Linked DNA regions of Homo sapiens: regions 1, 3 and 4 are each linked to region 2. The links are contacts of gene promoters, found by promoter capture Hi-C in blood cells and fetal thymus (Javierre and others, 2016). All regions are on one chromosome and are shown on one strand. The core of a region is centred on a gene start or on the middle of the fragment in contact, and the rest is flanking DNA. Distances in the headings are between cores, read along the strand shown.

Evidence for each region. The method cuts DNA at HindIII sites, captures the fragments that hold promoters and counts their contacts. A CHiCAGO score of 5 or more calls a contact.
Region 1: a contact is called between a fragment that was not itself captured here and the fragment with the promoter of SLC11A2 in region 2, in 1 of 17 cell types (megakaryocytes). The highest score is 5.4, in megakaryocytes.
Region 3: a fragment that was not itself captured here is called in contact with the fragment with the promoter of SLC11A2 in region 2 in 1 of 17 cell types (megakaryocytes); the score reaches 5.4 in megakaryocytes.
Region 4: a contact is called between a fragment that was not itself captured here and the fragment with the promoter of SLC11A2 in region 2, in 1 of 17 cell types (megakaryocytes). The highest score is 6.9, in megakaryocytes.

The regions. Positions count from the first base shown.
Region 1 is chr12:51,286,073-51,289,154 of GRCh38, forward strand. BIN2 (bridging integrator 2) reads right to left here. Exons shown (of 13, transcript NM_016293.4): 11 at 2,036-2,116. Among named protein-coding and RNA genes, the nearest start is that of SMAGP, 17 kb to the left of the region's middle. The HindIII fragment of the contact is 1,579 bases long and covers 479-2,057 here.
Region 2 is chr12:51,024,520-51,027,742 of GRCh38, forward strand. SLC11A2 (solute carrier family 11 member 2) reads right to left here and starts at 1,865. Exons shown (of 16, transcript NM_000617.3): 1 at 1,791-1,865. RefSeq lists enhancers at 825-1,438, 1,439-2,050 and silencers at 1,456-1,515, 1,526-2,245. The HindIII fragment of the contact is 11,669 bases long and covers 293-3,223 here.
Region 3 is chr12:50,730,251-50,733,253 of GRCh38, forward strand. It overlaps DIP2B (disco interacting protein 2 homolog B), which reads left to right. Exons shown (of 38, transcript NM_173602.3): 31 at 1,119-1,287; 32 at 2,116-2,286. Among named protein-coding and RNA genes, the nearest start is that of ATF1, 32 kb to the right of the region's middle. The HindIII fragment of the contact is 4,800 bases long and covers 1-3,003 here.
Region 4 is chr12:51,364,477-51,367,500 of GRCh38, forward strand. GALNT6 (polypeptide N-acetylgalactosaminyltransferase 6) reads right to left here. Exons shown (of 12, transcript NM_007210.4): 5 at 954-1,103. Among named protein-coding and RNA genes, the nearest start is that of CELA1, 19 kb to the left of the region's middle. The HindIII fragment of the contact is 1,990 bases long and covers 261-2,250 here.

The sequences.
Region 1 (3,082 bases), core at 18-2,517, 260 kb after region 2:
TCTCTGAGATGATTCAAATGGTAAGCAAGAACAGATTTTTTCCCAGTAATTTTTTTTCAAAAATGGCTATGTTTTTTCCCAGTTATATTTATATTTACCCATTTTTACATGTGACATGTCCATAATTCTGCCTGAGAGAAAATATGATTTATAATGCATCTGCAAGGGAAGTGAGCATACACAGGCTTCAGAGGATTGATGACACGAATAGGCTAGGATCTAAGATGCTCTAGTTGCTTAATTCTACAGGAAAAATATTTCTCCTTAGCTGATGACCAAAGCAATCCCACCAGAGAGGCTAAGAGTAAGGAAATATTATAAATCTAAAATATAAGGAGACAGACTCAGGCGGAAGGAGAGTGTATCCTGTACCTCTTTTCCAGGGAGGACAGTGTTACTAGCCTGTTTCTTAAAATGGTCAGAAAGAGTCTTGGCTCCTATAAACTCCTCCCTTCAAAAAGATGACTCCAAGAATGCAAGCTTGTTTTATCATTCCCCAGAGGCAATCAAAAAGTCACTCTATTACTGTCTCCATCTAAAATCATATAATACATTATAAAATCAAATTGAAATCAATTCAACCATTGAGTTGCTCTTTTCAGTGCAGAAAAATGAGAAGTGGCTATGCTTACCTACTCAAAACCCCGCATCTATCCTGCACTTATTCACTCTCCACATGTCCTGCCTATCTCTCTCCATCAGCACAGCTGCCTCAGACTAGAAACTGACCAAGGAAAAGTCATTTTTATTATTTAAAAAATCTTTTTTTGAGATGGGGTCTCACTCTGTTGCCCAGGCTGGAGTGCAGTGGCGTGATCATGGCTCACTGTACCCTTGACCTCCCTGGGCTCAGGTGATCCCACCTCAGCTTCCCAAGTAGCTGGGGCCACAGGCATGTGACACTACGCCTGGCTAATTTTTGTATTTTTTGTAGAGATGGGTTTTTCCTATGTTGCCCAGGCTGATCTTAGACTCCTGGGGTCAAGTGATCCACCTGCCTCAGCCCCCAACAAAGTGCTAGGATTACAGCCACCTTGGGAGGTTGAGGCACTGCACCCAAATCTTTTTATTAAATTTTTTTTAAAGAGATGGGATCTCACTATGTTGCCCAAGCTGGAGTGCAGTGGCTATTCACAGGTGTGATCGTAGCATACTACAGTGTCGAACACCTGGGCTCAAGTGATCCTCCCGCCTCAGCATCCTGAGTAGCTGGGATTACAGGCTTGCATCAGTGAGCCTGACTTAAGGAAAAGTTGTTTTTTTTTGTTTTTTTTTTTGAGACAGAGTTTCACTCTTGTTGCCCAGGCTGGAATGCGATGGCGAGATCTCGGCTCACTGCAACCTCCGCCTTCTGGGTTCAAGCAATTCTCCTGCCTCAGCCTCCTCAGTAGCTGGGATTTCAGGCACATGCCACCATGCCCGGCTAATTTTTGTATTTTTAGTAGAAATGGGGTTTCACCATGTTGACCAGGCTGGTCTCAAACTCTCGAACTCCTGACCTCAGGTGATCCGCCCACCTCGGCCTCCCAAACTGCTGGGATTACAGGCGTAAGCCACTGCACCCGGCCTAGGAAAAGTTTTTTTTTTTTTTCTTTTTGAGACGGAGTCTCGCTCTGTCACCCAGGCTGGAGTGCAGTGGCGCAATCTCGGCTCACTGCAAGCTCCACCTCCCGGGTTCATGCCATTCTCCTGCCTCAGCCTCCCGAGTAGCTGGGAATACAGGCACCCGCCACCACACCCGGCTAATTTTTTGTATTTTTAGTAGAGACGGGGTTTCACCGTGTTAGCCAGGATGATCTCGATCTCCTGACCTGGGAATCCGCCCGCCTCTGCCTCCCAAAGTGCTGGGATTACAGGCATGAGCCACCGCGCCCGGCCAGGACAAGTTTTACATCTTGCTCTGTTAGGGCCCTCAGTGCTTCATGTGAATCAAGACTGAAGGCCTCTGAAAGATATACTTCTGGAAAAAGAAAAATAAATTTTAATGTACAAAAAAATAGGGCATCATCATGTAGATGACTTAGGCTTTTAGTACCTCCGAGGAGTTAGCTGAGATAAGCTTATTATCCTTTTCCTTGTCTTCCATCTTCTTTGCCTCTCCAGGCTCTGAAGCAACCTGTGAATCAAAGTGAACAATGGAGGAGAGAGTCCCACACCTTCCACCTGGGGGCCATCCCTGTGCCCTTGGTCCATATTAGCTCCTCTCAGATATCAGGAGGCTCCCGAGGTAGCCTTGGTCAGACACAGGCAGTAGTAGGGTGGTGTGATCTAACGAGTGTCAGAAATCTCACACACTTCTCCCGGATATACACATGGCTCATGTGCTAGCCTTCTTCATTGCTCACATGTCACCGCTGACTGCTCTATAAACTTGCAACTCAGCTCCCACTCCCTGTGTCCTTCCCTACTTAATTTTTCTTCATATCACTTATCATTACTAGATTGTAATTTTATTTATTCTTTTTTTTTGTCTGTCTTCCGCACTAAAATATAAGCCTCAGGAAGGCAGGGTATTTTGTTTTGTTCACTGTCATACCCCACCTCCTAGAAAAGTCCCAGGCACACTGTAGGGGCTCAGTAAGTAATTGTAGAATGAATAAATCTTGTTGCCATCTAGTCAGACATTTCACCATAATCCTCTCTACAATGTACCTGACTGGAGATAATCTATCCTAGATCTTTTTTTTTTTTTTTGAGACAGGGTCTTGCTCTGTTGCCAGGCTGGAGTGCAACGTGGCACAATCTTGGCTTACTGCAACTTCTGCCTCCTGGGTTCAAGCGATTCTCCTGCCTCAGCCTCCCGAGTAGCTGGGATTACGGCACACACCACCATGCCCAACAAACTTTTTGTATTTTTAGTAGAGACGGGGTTTCACCATGTTGGCCAGGATGGTCTCGATCTCCTGACCTCATGATCCGCCCACCTCAGCCTCCCGAAGTGCTGGGATTACAGGCGTGAGCCACTGCGCCCGGCCCTTAGCTCTTAACATCAAGGAAAGAGAACTAATTTTCAAGGCGGCCCATCCCATATTTTTTTTGATCAGCCCCTTGTGTCTCCTTTGCCCTTCCACAATACTTTTTT
Region 2 (3,223 bases), core at 615-3,114:
TACAAAAAAAATTCGCCAGGCATCAAGAGGCTGAGGCAGGAGAATCGCTTGAACCCGGGAGGCAGAGGTTGCAGTGAGCCGAGATCGCGCTATTACATTCCAGCCTGGGCAACAAGAGCGAAACTCCGTATCAAAAAACGAAAGAAAGAAAGAAAAAGATCCTACTTTGTAGATATAATTCTCTAACCTTCACTGAGTCATAACTGAACCAAAGCTGCCTACTAGCTTTGTAGAGTAATCCAAGGGACCACTGCTGATTTCCTAACATTAGAGTAAGATTAGATTCATAAGAAGCTTCCCCATTCCTTAACAAGAAGTGCTGCCAGGCTACCCAGAAATTCCCCTCCCGAGTCCCACTGCCATTCCGGAAACATGAGAAACCAAGTATGCTGCAATCATGGCCTTTTTAGTACTGGCTCCAAAATAAACTGAGTAGGCCAAGCAAGACTGTCAATGAAATACTGTCCAATGAAAAAATAAACAGCCGAAGGTTTCAGGTTTCATTTACCCAACACAGGTATCACAATAAATGACCTAGTATAATGATAGTTTCCAACCGTATTTAATAAAACAAACACGCAGCAGAAATCCTCTAGTCACATATAACTACACTATACCCTCAGATCAAAGTTAATGATGTCAATGGAAAGTATAGGCCGGCGGGTTCACTGGTGATAAGTCATGAGACTCTGAGCAAAGAATAAGTAATAAGGTTAGAATTCTTTAGAAGTGTTAAGGGGAAAGAAGGTAACAACAACAAAAACTCCTCCACATCAAGAGTTCTAAGTACTTTGTTGTTTATTAACTAATTTCATACCAACAACCCTGTAAGACTGATATTATCAATCCCCATTTTAAGTACGTGGAACAAAAGAAGAAAGAGGCAAACAACATGCTCAAAGATTTACAAAGCCAAGAAATCATGCGAACTGGTGGGGCTTCGGGTTCCAGAAGTCAGTGTAAACATAGCTTCTCCATTTTTCACCAACAGTCACTAAAATTGAGGCCAGCAAGTTTTTAGAAGCCTATCTCCCCTTGCAAACTCTCCTTCCATATAATTTTTGCTTTTGCAAGAGATGTCACATTTAAGCGGTAGCTTTAAAAGTGGGGACACATGAAACGCACAGCTGGGAGAGCCATCCAGCCCACTTACATATGTGCAATATCCCCCTGTAGAAAAACCCTGCTCATTGGAGCCTGGAATCCAGAGGGTCCCTGAGAGCTACACAAACAGCCTTAAAACCAATCTACCCACAATTACTGAGCCGCGTATGCAGGCTATTCACACAGAAGGCGCTCCCTGAAGTCGGTTAGGTTATAATGAGTCTTTTGTTGAAGCGGGGCGGCGGGAGGCCCCGGAGAGCAGCCCGGCCCCCTGCGGCGCCGACGAAGAGGCCACGAAAGACCTTGCCCTGTGCCCGTCGGCCTCTTTCGAGGCGTCGAAGCAGGTCAGCGCACCCCGACACAGGCCGGGCGCGCCATCCGGTGCAGCTGGGAGCTGGGCCATGTGTCCTAGGCCGCGGCGGGGAAGGGGCGAGACCCCCGCGACCTCCGGCGTTCCCTCCCTGCCCCCATCTTTGGGTCTTTCTCTGAATGGCGCGACTCCATCAGTCCTGGACTCTGGGCCTGAGGCCCTCCCTGGCCACACCTCCCCTCACAGCCCCGCACGGCGAGCCGGTGTCGCATCCTAGCCCCGGAGCCTGACCCCCGACACAGGCCCTCGAGCCGCCCCGCGCCCCTCCCTGCCAGCGAGCGGAATGCCGTGACCCCTGACCTTGCCTTCCCCTCACCTTACCAGCTCCGCAACCACCTGACACGCCGCCCCCGCGCCCAGGGCTCCATATTCCGGGAGCCAGCGCCACGCTGGCTAACGCCCTCCCCTCCCCGCGATTGGTCGACAGGACGGCAGCCGCACATCCCTATTGGCTGGAGTCCCTGCAGCGGCCGGGATGCGTGGCCCGCAGACCAGGGACCTAGGCTCCGCCCACGCGGAGTCTGGATGCGGCGGCCCCTGGGGCACGCGGCGGCCCCTGGGGCACCCGGCGGGAGCTGCATGCTGCCTAGTTGCTGCTTGCGTTGGCCAGACCCACACAGCCCCTGGACTGGGGAGCTCCAGTCCGCTAGCAGTCTGGGGACAGATAAGATTCCTGCCCTAGTTCGCCGTGGCGCCACGTTAGGTACTGACAATCAAGCTACGAGGTATAGCTCTATCCTGTAAAGGGTAGCCAGGCCAGGCGCGGAGGCTCACACTTGTAATGCCCAGCACTTTGGGAGACCGAGGCGGGAGGATCACTTGAGTCCAGGAGTTCGATACCAGCCTGGGCAACATAGTGAGACCCGGTCTCTACAAAAAATTTTAAAATTAGCCAAGCAAAGGCCGGGCGCGGTGGCTCACGCCTGTACTCCCAGCACTTTGGAGGGCCCAGGCGGGCGAATCACCTGAGATCGGGAGTTTGAGACCAGCCTGACCAACATGGAGAAACCCCGTCTTTACTAAAAATACAAAATTAGCCGGGCGTGGTGGCGCATGCCTGTAATCCCAGCTACTCGGGAGGCTGAGGCAAGAGAATCGCTTGAACCCGGGAGGCGGAGGTGCAGTGAGCCGAGATCGCGCCATTGCACTCCAGCCTTGGAAACAAGAGCGAAAACTCCGTCTAAAAAAAAAAAAAAATTAGCCAGGCATCACGGCGCCCGCCTGTGGTCCCAGCTACTCGGGGGCTGAGGTGGGAGAATCACTTGGGCCTGGGAGGTGGAGGCTGCGGTGAGACAAGATCGTGCCACTGCACTCCAGCCTGGGTGGCAGAGCAAAACCCTGTCTCAAAAAAAAAGGATAGCCACCTGGAAGGAACATTTCCTCGCGCCCCCAGAGCCACATCATAGTATCTGCTGCCCCACCAAGAGCACCCCACACCTGGGAGGAACCGAGAAACATCAGCTAGTGCAGCCAGTTTGACCGCCTTAGGTGTCCTCCCAAGCCTCCGTAGTGAATTGTTTTCCTCCTCGCCCAGCTGACTCGATTCTCCCCAGACTTCATCCTACCTACCCAAAAGCAATCCCACTCTATCGCCAGTTTCAGCCTCACACCGTATCTTTTGCTCTGAAGATGAGACTGCCAAACTGGTGAAGAGGGAATAAATGGCCTAACAAATTACCGTAATTTTCTGCAATGTCGTTTACAGCCACCAAAAACATTAGATCCTCCCGCCACCCTCACTCCCCGACC
Region 3 (3,003 bases), core at 470-2,969, 290 kb before region 2:
GTTTGGCCTTAGCCCTTCTGGCCTTACTTCTCCATTCACCCTGTATGCTACGATTTCAGTTGAATACTCTTTCTTTTTCTTCTTTTTCTTTCTCTCTCTTTCTTTTTTTGTTTCTTTCTTTCTCTCTCTCTCTTTTTTTTTTTTTTTTAAAGGAGACAGGGTCTCAATCTGTCACCCAGGCTGGAGTGCAGTGGCACAAATCACAGCTCACTGCAGCCTCTCGGGCTCAAGTGATCCTCCCACCTCAGCCTCCCAAGTAGCTGGGACTACAGGTGTGTGCCACCACGCCTGGCTAATTGTTAAAAAAATTTTTTTTGTAGAGGCATGAGTTTTGCTCTATTACCCAGGCTGGTCTTCACCTTCTGGGCTCCAGCGATCCTCCCATCATGGCCTCCCAAAGTACTGGGATTACAGGCGTGAGCCACCGTGCCTGGCCACTTGAATACTATTAATATTTCTGATCGCTTCAAACATGCTGTAATTATCGGCCTTTGTAAATGTTGTTCCTCTGCTTAGAACACCCTCACTACCGTCCCCACTTCTTCTGGCCACTGCCAAATTCATACTCATTCTTCAAGCTGCAGCTCAAGTGTCACCAGCTCAGTGAAGCACTACCACTCCCCTACCCTGGCTTATCGAGCTTGAATGAACTGCTCTTTATTCTGTGATGTCAGTGTTCTTGATTCACATCTCATATTCAGAGCATCAATAAAATGGCTATAAACATCTTTAAAAGAAACCATAGGAATAAAATCCAGTCCACACATAAGGTTTCTGAATAGAAAGAGGAAAAAATGCTACTCCATCAGGGTTTTAAAGATTAGTTATTAGGAATTACCTTTCCAGAATGTTTAGTATCATCTTGACCATATTAATTAGCTTGAGGGCAGCTGTAAGAATGTTATGTAGACTTAAGTGACCTACCACAGTCTGCTTTATTTCATAGTTGCTCCTTTTGCGAGTTGCATAGGAACAAGACTGATTCTTAGAGCTTTATATCTCATATGTCCCTACACTGTCCTTTACACTCAGTAAATATCTGTGGAATTGGTGGGGTTCTGAAGCATCAGGTATCCAGGATGAATTGATGATTCCAGCTCTTGTCTCTTTCACTGCAGTGTCTATTCAGGCCACCAGTCTGTCTTAATTCCTCCTATGGAGTTAGAGAACAACCTTTTCCTCTGGCTCTCCACAGTCAACCAGTACAAAATAAGGGACACTTTCTGCTCCTATTCAGTGATGGAGCTCTGCACCAAAGGTCTTGGGAACCAAGTGGAAGTGCTAAAGGTAAGAAGCAGCTCCAGCAGGTGGCCAGTCCCAAAAGGTTCTGAAGAAATGCGCCAGGACGTAACAGGGCCAGAGCAGGGGCTAACAGACATGTTTGCTTGCCTTTTTCAAGTCACTCAGTTAAAAAAGGGTGTATTTTAAACTTTGGCAAGTTTATCTCTTCCACCTTCCTAATTTAGTGCACTCTTCCACAGTTTAATATGATTCTTACTTTGTGGACAAGAAGCGGAAACTGGTTGGGAGGCTAACTGGAAAGACTTTATGTAAACATAAAAGGGAACTGTGGCTTCCAATACTTTTTTTTCCTAATAGAATTTGAAACCTCAAAATATTAGGAATTCAGAATATCTCCAAAGATAAGGGTAACTCATTGATTCATGTGTGTGTCAAATGATGATCTGTCTGACTTGCAGATGAGAAAGTCAGAAGATACTGAATTTTCTTTGATAGAAAAATATCTTTGGAATGCAAAAAGAGATGAGATTAGATCGCCAGAGTTCTAGATTAATTTTTCTCTCAGTCTCATCAAATAGGGGGACATCTAAGGTACAGAAATGAGGAGGGATAAAAACATTGCTGAAGAGCCTTAGATTTTTAGAAGAAAGAGGAAAGAACTAGAGAATGAGCAAATTTACCAGCAGATAGTGATTTTAATGGGATGCCTTGTCCGTTTCTTCTTTTCTGAAAGCTGCTTTTTTCTCTGTGTGCCTGAGGTGAGAATACACAATTGCTTGGCTTTTCCTGACCAAGGAGCTAGAACAGTGGCCTTACCTGTTCAGTTCTTTTATGATCCTACTGACTTGGCTCCCATATAATGGTGTCTTGCAGACCAGAGGGATCAACCTCTCCTGCGTCCGGACCTGTGTGGTGGTGGCGGAGGAGAGGCCCCGCGTTGCACTCCAGCAGTCCTTCTCTAAGCTCTTCAAAGACATCGGGCTGTCCCCGCGGGCTGTCAGCACCACTTTTGGATCAAGAGTCAATGTAGCAATATGTTTACAGGTGACCCTCATGAAATCTTGTCTGTTGACAAATGGGAGAGGAATATGGAGTATCCCAGAGCATGGGCTTTGGAGCCAGGCTGCCTGGGCTTGGGCCCCAGCCGCACTTACTTGCTTTGGAACTTCGGGCTTTTAAATCTCGATTTCTTTGTGTCTCATTTTGCTCATCTGTAAGGTGAAGGTAGCAGTACTGTGCTTCCCCAGGCAGCTTGCACAATCACTGAGCTGCCAACTCGGAGTTCTTGGAGCAGTGCTGACAGTGAGCGCAGTGTTGGTGTTTACTTGAGTCATCGTCGTGTGGTCATGATGACGAGTCACAAAGATTTGAGTCCTATTTGGATTTTACTTGTATCTGACCTGTTTTTCCTTTTTCTTTTTTTTTTTATTTGAGACGGAGCCTTGCTCTGTCACCCCAGCTGGAGTGTAGTGGTGCAGTCTCAGCTTACTGCAACCTCCACCTCCTGGGTTCAAGCGGTTCTCTCACGTCAGCCTCCAGAGTAGCTGGGATTACAGGCGTGTACCACCACGCCCGGCTATTTTTTGTATTTTTAGTAGAGACAGGGTTTCGCCCTGTTGACCAGGCTGGTCTCAAACTCCTGACCTCAAGTGATCCAGCCGCCTCAGCCTCCCAAAGTGCTGGGATTACAGACATGAGCCACCGCGCCCGGTCTGACCTTCTGTTTTTCTGTCTCTATATTCTATACCATTTTTTTTCTTT
Region 4 (3,024 bases), core at 6-2,505, 340 kb after region 2:
CAAGCCCCACAGCTACAGGGAGCACACAGAATTTCCTAAAACCCTTCTACCACCCCTCTACCCCCAAAGGCGGAGGCAGCTTTGGCAGGGAGAATGGAGGTCTCAGGGGAGTAACATGGTCAACTCAGATGACCCAAAAGCACAGGGAGGCCCTGGATGGTATCTTCCGGGGTTCCAGCCGATCCATTGGCCCAGCCCTCCGGGCCCACGTGTGGATTTCAGAAGAGGGTGTTCCCCCTCCCAGGGGCATCCGCATGTCAAGCTTCAGCCCTAATTGTAGAAGAATAATCTCTTTCATTTGTCTAGCTCCTTGAGATTTTCAGTGAGCTTCTGCACGTATTATTACTTCATTCGGCCCTCAGAGTAATATTTCTGTTCAGTAAGGTTAGTATCCTCATTCCTATTTTATAAATGAGGAAACTGAGGCTGTTAGTGGGGCAGGGTCAGAATGCAAACCAAGAATTCTGACTCCAAGACTAGAGCTTCCCCTAATATATATCACCACTCCTAGGGAAAATATTTCATCCTCCACAACAGTGGGGAAGTGTTTTGGTTTTGGGCAAGAAGGAGGCCTTCCTGGCTCCATGTTGCCCTAGAAGAAAGCCCCAAACAAGCCAGTTCTGTCATAGCAGGAGGCCTCTCTGAGGGGCCAAGCTCAGAGCAAGGTGCAGATGGGAGTACAGGGAGGGATGAATGTCCGGGGCCCCGGTGATCACTGGAAATCACTTCCAGTGATTTTGGGGTCACCAGTTGTTTTAGGGATGTTTGTCTTCTTGATGAAACATCCTTGGGATTGGGGTGAGAAAGGGGTAGAGGCACCTGGAGTGGGTCCCAAGCCTCCTTCACTCCCGGAAGAGAGAACAGGAAGGGGCCTTGGGGAGGCTGTGGCCCTGGCTCATTCTAGCAGGGAGGGAGCCTCCAGGTTACACCCAGGCCGGTGCCCTGGTACTCACAGTGGGCATCCAGGAACGTGAGCACCTCCGCCTGTGCCACGCTGGCCCCCAGCAGCCGGGCGGTGATCAGCCCCTTCCGCTCCTCCTGCCGCACCACCCTCACCACCTGCAGCTGCTTCACGTACTGCTCCAGCTTCTCCTTTAGGTGCTCTGGAAGGGACAGTGTCATTGTGGCCAGTCCACCACTTTGCTGTATACCCAATCCCCTGTGGGCACCAAGCTAGGGGCTCTCAGGCCTCTAGCAGGCCTGAATTTTAAACCCCCAACACCTGCTGTACTGAGCCATTCCACAGAAGCCGGAGCTGGGGAAGGAGGTTAACAGGGAAGATGGGGAGAGGAAGAAAGAAGCCCTGTCTGTGGTCAAAACTGCCTCACCAGGGCTCTGGCTCTGTGGTGCTAGATCCTATGCCTGTTCACCTGGGCACCCTCTCTAATGTCAGGGACAGCACCTCAGAGTTGTGTTTCTGTGGTCACGTATCAAGTACAAACTTTTTGTTGTTGTTGTTGAGATGGAGTCTCATTCTGTCACCCAGGCTGGAGTGCAATGGCGTGATCTTGGCTCACTGCAACCTCCACCTCCTGGGCTCAAGTGATTCTCCTGCCTCAGCCTCCTGAGTAGCTAGGACTACAGGTGTGTGCAACCATGCCTGGCTCATTTTTACATTTTTAGTAGAGATAGCATTTCACCATATTGGCCAGGCTGGTCTCGTACTCCTGGCCTCAAGTGATTCGCCTGCCTTGGCCTCCCAAAGTTCTGGGATTACAGGCATGAGCCACCACGCCCGGCCCAAGTACAAAATTCTGACAGAGGCTCTCAGATGCCTCCCTCAGTTTCTCCACCCTCTCAGCCACCATCTTCCAGAGCTGCAATTCCACAGCTCCATTGCACGGTTGTTTTCCAGTGTCTAGGATTCCCTGTCTCCCAGGCTCTTCACGGTAACGTCGATGGGTGGGCATACACAAATGGTGACTCCTTGCTTGCTGGATCAGCAGCAGGACATCTGACTCTAATCCCCTTTGTAACCTCCTCTGCAGATAGAATTCTTTAAGGTGAAAACATGCCCAGCAGCTTTTTAATTATATTAAGAAAATACTTGCACCAAGCACCTACCACGGACCAGGCACAGTGGCGAGCCCAGCCGGCTTGACCATTTGTCCTAAGGAACAAACCACCCAGAAGCAAGGCTGACCAGGAAACAGGCAATTCCAGGGCAGGTGATCCATGATCTAACAGAGGTAGTGCTGGGGTGTGGGTCCCAAAGAAGGGCCAAATCTCCTGGATTTGAGGAGCGGGGAAAGCTTTTTGAAGGGAAGATGTCTCTACTGAGACCTCCAGCTCCTTTCAAAGAAGAGTTTTAGTTCATGGCCCTGTAATTTAGTCTGAAATCCTCAGAGCATTAACAATAGCTCTATTCTGGCTGGGCACGGTGGCTCACTCCTGTAATCCCAGCACTTTGGGAGGCCAAGGCAGATGGATCACTTGAGCCAAGGAATTTGAGACCAGCCTGGCCAACATGGTGAGACCCTGCCACTATTAAAAATACAAAAATTAGGCCAGACGCGCTGGCTCATGGCTGTAATCCCAGTACTTTGGGAGGCGGAGGCAGGTGGATCACCTGAGGTTGGGAGTTCGAGACCAGCCTGACCAACATGGAGAAACCCTGTCTCTACTGAAAATACAAAATTAGCTGGGCACGCATGCTTGTAATCCCAGCTACTCGGGAGGCTGAGGCAGGTGAATCGTTTGAACTTGGGAGGCAGAGGTTGCAGTGAGCCGAGATTGCACCATTGCACTCCAGCCTGGGCAACAAGAGCGAAACTCCGTCTCAAAAAAACCAAAAACAAACAAACAAAAATTAGCCAGGTGTGGTGGCGCACACCTGTAAACCCAGCTACTCGGGAGGCTGAGGCAGGAGAACTGCTTGAACCCAGGAGGTGGAGGTTGCAGTGAGCTGAGATCATGCCACTGCACTCCAACCTGAGTGACATAGCAAGACTTGTCTCAAAACAAAAAACAAACGAAGAATAGCTCTATTCTGAAGCAGTCCATCTTGAAACATACCGAATTCCA